2 separate regions of the Homo sapiens genome follow, and region 1 is linked to region 2. Evidence: promoter capture Hi-C in 16 types of primary human blood cells and fetal thymus (Javierre and others, 2016). All regions are on one chromosome and are shown on one strand. The core of a region is centred on a gene start or on the middle of the fragment in contact, and the rest is flanking DNA. Distances in the headings are between cores, read along the strand shown.

The links. The method cuts DNA at HindIII sites, captures the fragments that hold promoters and counts their contacts. A CHiCAGO score of 5 or more calls a contact.
Region 1: a fragment that was not itself captured here is called in contact with the fragment with the promoter of RPL22L1 in region 2 in 2 of 17 cell types (naive CD4 T cells and naive B cells); the score reaches 5.7 in naive CD4 T cells.

Annotation. Positions count from the first base shown.
Region 1 is chr3:169,758,385-169,761,320 of GRCh38, forward strand. No RefSeq gene overlaps it. Among named protein-coding and RNA genes, the nearest start is that of ACTRT3, 9.7 kb to the right of the region's middle. The HindIII fragment of the contact is 1,828 bases long and covers 351-2,178 here.
Region 2 is chr3:170,868,763-170,871,820 of GRCh38, forward strand. RPL22L1 (ribosomal protein L22 like 1) reads right to left here and starts at 1,433. Exons shown (of 4, transcript NM_001099645.2): 1 at 1,397-1,433. The coding sequence starts at 1,405. RefSeq lists enhancers at 926-975, 1,145-1,871, 1,872-2,597. The HindIII fragment of the contact is 15,380 bases long and covers 1-3,058 here.

The DNA of each region.
Region 1 (2,936 bases), core at 15-2,514, 1.1 Mb before region 2:
GTTTTCTGTAAAGTAAAATAGCAGTTAAAAGCTAAAATGCGTGTATTTACATTCTTAGGCCTGCTACTGACCTTCTTCAAGTGATTTTACCTCCCAACGTTTCAGTTTCTCCATTTGCAGAAGGGAGATAATGGTGGTTGCCTTATCTCACAAGGATGTCATGAAAATAAGTCAGATAAATTGCTTTGCCCTCCTTGGAGAGGGGCTCTAGAAAGTAAGCATTATTAGATATGATGATGAATACCCACAACTTCAAAGATATTTTTAAATTGCCCCCCCTCCGCCCCCAAGTCTTTGAACATGTTAAGCCTATGAATAGCACTGGGGTAGGTGTTTATATATTTCTGGCAAGCTTTCACCTCTTGTTAAAGCAGTAAATGGTCTTTGAACAAACGTATTTCTCATTCTTTGATAACTATGCTTCCTTGTTTGTACACTTGAAAGATGATTATAATCTGGCATATGAGGTCAAGTTGAACTCCTTGGTGCCATTACAGTTCAAATGTAGCTTTAATTGAGTTTTTCTTCCAAGGTTGAAAATAAGTCACCCAGTTCACTTTAGCAAACTACTCGCATTTTTTAAAAAGATTGTGGGGAATGTAACTGTTTTTGCAACTGATATGTATAATGTTTTTCATTTTAGTTATAATATCCTCATTGATCATACAAAAAAGTCAGTATTTGTATTTCTTCATTATTGCATTTTTCTGTTTTCCTTAAATTGTTTTTAATAACTATAATTATGCCTTTTAACACTTATATAGACAGCCATAGTACACACATAAATATCACCAAAGTGAAAACCTAGAGCCCCAAGACAAAAAAAAAAAAAAAAATGATAGTCAAACATCATCTAGAGAAAGATTCTAGCTGCAGGTGTGCATCAAGTTCATAATTGGTGTTATTTTAAAAATTCACAAACCATTAGCACTTCCACCCTTCTCCATATATCTCTTAACTATATACCCAAGTCAAAACCACTTCCTGCCAGAGTAACTACAACATACCCATCAGAGCGCTGTAAAATCATTACTTGCAAAGTAAAGAGTAAGACAGACTTCTCCTCTCATTAATAATACCAGTTGCTGTCATATATATTACTCATATATTCTCCCCACAACCACCCTTCAAGGGAAGTCTTAGTACATCCGGTTGACACATGTGGAATGTAAAGTTGGGTGACTTATGCTAGATTCCCTCAGCTAGGTTAGAACAGGGTAAAAGTACAGGACCACAATAATATCCTTATTTCAATGTCTTCCTGTTTCCTTTTTATATCAAGGAAGAAATGAGAATTTGAGGCAACACAAATGAAGACCATATATACTTTGATACCTACCTAGGAGGGGAGATACAAACCAGAGTAAAGGAAAAATATGGGAAAAGTTGCCTCATTTCCACCTAGTGATGGTGGAACCCTTGGAACCCTCTTCACATCCCATAACGACTGACAGAATGGACACTGAAAAACAGGCCCACCCCTCAGGCAGAACCACTGGAAGAAATACCCTAACCCCTATACGTGAAGGATTAGCACTACTATTTTCAGAATATTATTAAAATTTAATTTTGAAACTTCTCTTTAGTGATATTCCCAGAAACCTATAACAGATACCACCAGTGTAAACTCCTCTCAAATACATTTATTTTGGGTAGGCCTCAAACTGGTAGGATGGTCCAAACCCTCACCCTTCTAGAGAAAGCACTCAGGAATGCTTAAATTTGCCTAGGCCAAAGGTCGCAAATTAATAGCCTATAATAGACCAGATTTTATCTCAAAACGTTTTTTTATTGGTGCATTGCAATGACTTCAGCTATCAACAACCTAAGCTAGGAGGTCCCCAGGCCATCCTTACATCTGACAAGCTGCCTACAAATTTAGGGGTTCCCACTACCCCTTCAAGTTTCATAATTCAGTAGAATGACTTAGAGAACTCAGGAAAGTGTTATTTCGGTTTTATTACAGTTTTATCATAGCAAAAGGATGTTTATTATAGTTATTATTATGGTTTTATTATAGCAAAAGGATTCAAATCAAAACCAGCCAAAGGGAGAGACACATAGAGTGAGGTCTGGGAGGGTCCCAGAAAGAAGGTTCCATTGTCCCTCTCCTCATGTCCTCAGGGACACATTTTCCTCCTAGCACACTGAGTACTGCCAACCACGGACGTTCATCCAAGCTTCAGTGTGTCCAGAGTTTTTATTGGGGCTTCATTACAGGCATGATTGGATGAATCACTAGTCATAAGGCTCAGACATGTGGCTCCAAGTCTCTCAAGAGGTCGGGCTAGTATCATGGGGCCCAAAGCCCCAACACTCTAATCACATGGCTGACCAACCCCCAGTCATGAGTCATCTCGTTAGTGTAAACTATTGGGTCTAGTCCAAGAGGCCTACCAAGAAAAGACACTCCCACCATTCTTGGTGAATTCCAAGGGTTTAGAGGCTACTTCCCAGGGTTCAGGAACAAAAGCCATCCAAATTCTTTACCATGCACTTATATAATATTTAAATTTTATTTCAATTTAGCTACCAACATTCTATAATCAGTGGTGTTGACATAAAAATCTGAATTTTTGTCTTCTCTTGCAATACTGACAATTTTAGGCTCAATTTCTGTAAGATTGCTGCCTCCTTAAAAAGGGAAGCTCATTCTCCCTACCATCTCTATAGTCTCCATTTTCTTATTCCCAGTGTGATTCACTTCTTTGTTTCCTTTCTGTCCACTGCAGACATTTAAATTTGCATATCCTGGGCTAATTCTTGGGTATTTTCGCTGTTTTTACTTCCATCACATATTATTACCTTAAAAGAATGAACATGAAGGAATGACAGTTACCTTTTGTCACTTCATTCTCATCTTATTTAAAACCACTCCTCCCTTACACTTTGTATGACGGTGGGTGCATGTGTACACACGCTTGTGCCTGTGCCAT
Region 2 (3,058 bases), core at 183-2,682:
CAATTCTTACGTTATTATAGGCAAGGGAAGGGGACTTTGGTAAAAAAAAAAAAAAAGAAAAGAAAAGAAAAAGAAAAAATAAAAATAAAAAAGGCAAGGTGCCGTCCCAGCACTTTGGGAGGCTGAGGCAGGAGGATCACGTGAGGTCAGGAGTTCAAGGCCAGCCTGGCCAACATGGTGAAACCCCATCTCTAGTAAAAATACAAAAATTAGCCAGGTGTGGTGGTGCATGCTTATAATCCTAGCTATTCAGGAGGCTGAGTCGGGAGGATTGCTTGAACCCGGGAGGCGGAGGTTGTAGTGAGCCTGATCATGCCACTATACTCCCACCTGGGCAACAGACTCTGTCTCAAAAAAAAAAAAAAACCTAAAAACCAACACCGTGGAACTTAAATTTTCCATATCCAAACCTTTTATACCAAGACCATATAATATGGCTACATAAGCAAAATGTTACTGTGGCCAGCAACCATGTACATTCACTGCAATATGAACAAACAAATCTGTATTTATCAGACTATAACCTCCAATTTAGATTCACCCAAGTGGCTACCAAGTATTACACATTAGTTTGCTTTCTCAGGTAGCATGGTAACATGTGCCAAAAGATAATTACCCAGTTGGCGCAGAAGTTAATTTGGGAGACACAAACAACTTCTGTCTAATGGAACAGATAACCCTATAGGGTTTATGGCCATGCTGGGCATTACCCAGTTTTGTAGCTAGCCCAGCAATTTTATCCTAACTTTATTTGTAAATTGCGCATGTATATCTAGCTTTTCAGATATTCTTAGGAACATTTTAACATCTTACTGGTTCCCTTACTAATGACTTAAGTAAAACATCTGAAGCACGTTTATTTCACATTGCTGGAATCTAGACTTATACTTTTCTAAAAATTACTTCACCGAGAAACTTCTTCCCCAACTGAAAGTTCTCAAAAACTTGTGATGTCGGCCATCGCGGGAGCTGAGCGCCTAGGAGCTCCCTCTGGCCTGGCAAAGGTCGTCAGACCGGCCCGATTACCCACCATTCCCCTACCCAGTGCTGAGTGGCAAAAGCATTATCAGGCGCGAGATAGTAAAGAAATGGCTCAGATTGCAGTACCACCGGCCCATTTACAGTTGTGCCTCCCTCTTTCCCGCGTGTCCAAAACCACCCATCCTAAACCAATTCCGGGCCCAGCTCCAACTCCACTAGACCTCATGGCAGCTGCCAGGGAGTCTCGAAAAACAGTTCAGGATCCTCGCGTCTTGGTTGTGTTTCTGACCCAGACTTCACTACTCCCCTCCCTTTATCTTGACTGAGACGTCTCCACTCGACAGATGCAAAAATCGTTACAGCGGAAATCATTAAATTGCCACACAACACTCCCACCAAGACATCGCTCACTCACCGGCGCCATCTTGCGAGTCGGCCGCGAGAGCAGAGAGGAAGCTACGGCCGCGCGGTCTGCATTTATATCAAAGCGTGCTGCGTCACGCGCTGAGAGCGTCAGATTGTCGCCTCCCGGAAAAGAAAGCGGGAGGAGCGCTGAGGCCGGTAACCCAGGAAACCAGTGCGCTGCCGGACGAGAGTAGGCCATCGGCTTTCCGCGGGCACACGCGGGTGGCTGTGGTTGAACTGACTCTCGGGTTTCCGCTCCTGGCTGTTCAAGCCGATTAATTGCAGTGGCCTCTACAGTTACCTAGTGGCTGCTCCCGGATACGGACGCACGCGAGGGATGCAGGAGTCATCTTTCACTAATCACCGGAATCCCCTTTCCAATCAGGGCAAGGCAGTGTCTCAGGTTGCTTTGGGATCTCCTTTTATTGCAGTTATAATCCTCCAGCGAAAAAGTTATTTGTTTGTGTTTTGTCTGTGAGCCTCGTTTTCTAAATGACTGTTGAGGGAAATTGGTGCTTCGGGGACCAGGTCCTCGGGAAAAAAAAATCATGTATATATATGCTTACACGCCCACGCCTGTAATCCCAGCACTTTGGGAGGCCGAGGCCGGAGAATCTCTTGAGCCCAGGAGTTCGAGACCACCCTTGGCAGCGTAGGCATAGGGAGAACCCGTCTCTACAAACAATTTTAAAAAAAATGGCCCGCGTGGTGGTGCGCGTCTGTACTCCCAGCCACTCGGGAGGCTGAGGCAGGAGCATCGCTTTACCTTGAGAGGCGGAAGTTGCAGTGAGTCGAGATCGAGCCACTGCACTCCAGCCTGGGTAACAGTGAGACTGTCTCAAAGGGAAAAACACGTAGTGCTTGCTTCTTGTTCATTCGTTTGGTATAATTTATCATGGGTTTTACAGTTAATCCCAGGTCTCTTGATTTCCATCCAAAATGCTCCCAGTTAAAATTCAATGAATGTTTGCTGTGACCTATCAGTATGTACAAGACACACGAGGGTGGAAGTGTCTTGCTGACAAAAGGAAAAAGTAGCTTTTGAGCTTTGAAGGATTGTAAATTGACATCAGATCCGAAAAGTGGCATGCTGAACCGCTTGGGTTTAGCAGTAATATGTTTTCGTGGAGATGAAATTATCATACCTAGGGGTAGGGGTAAGGGATGGGGTGGACTTTGTTGTTAATTTGAAGAATGACCCCAGAAAGTAAGAACTGTTCGTGGCCTTTATGCCAGCAAGTAGTTATCGTGGAAACTATGCTTTAATAGAGCATATGACTTGTAGAGTCTGAAGAGAGGCCCTGAATTCCTAGAAGAAATCCATTTCAACAAGATTTTTTAGTTGTCTGCCTTAAGAGCTACAATAATCACATTTCTCTTTCCAAACATTAAAGGGAGCAATTGGCATTTCCTCCTCAAGGGCTGCCTAAGCTGAGGGGCAGAAATGATTCTATTTTGCTTGTCTTTAGCAGTCTTCCATGTCTTGACAATAAACTCCTTAAGCACTATTAAGCCATTTGTACAAGGAGGATATGGAAACATACCTGTTTCACAAGAACTAGTAATCACCAAATAACTAGTTAGAAACTGTAATGGGGGAAAAATGTTTGTCAATTAGAAAAAAAAACAAGAATATTAGCGAGAAATGTGCAGATGGGAAGACTAAAAGTTG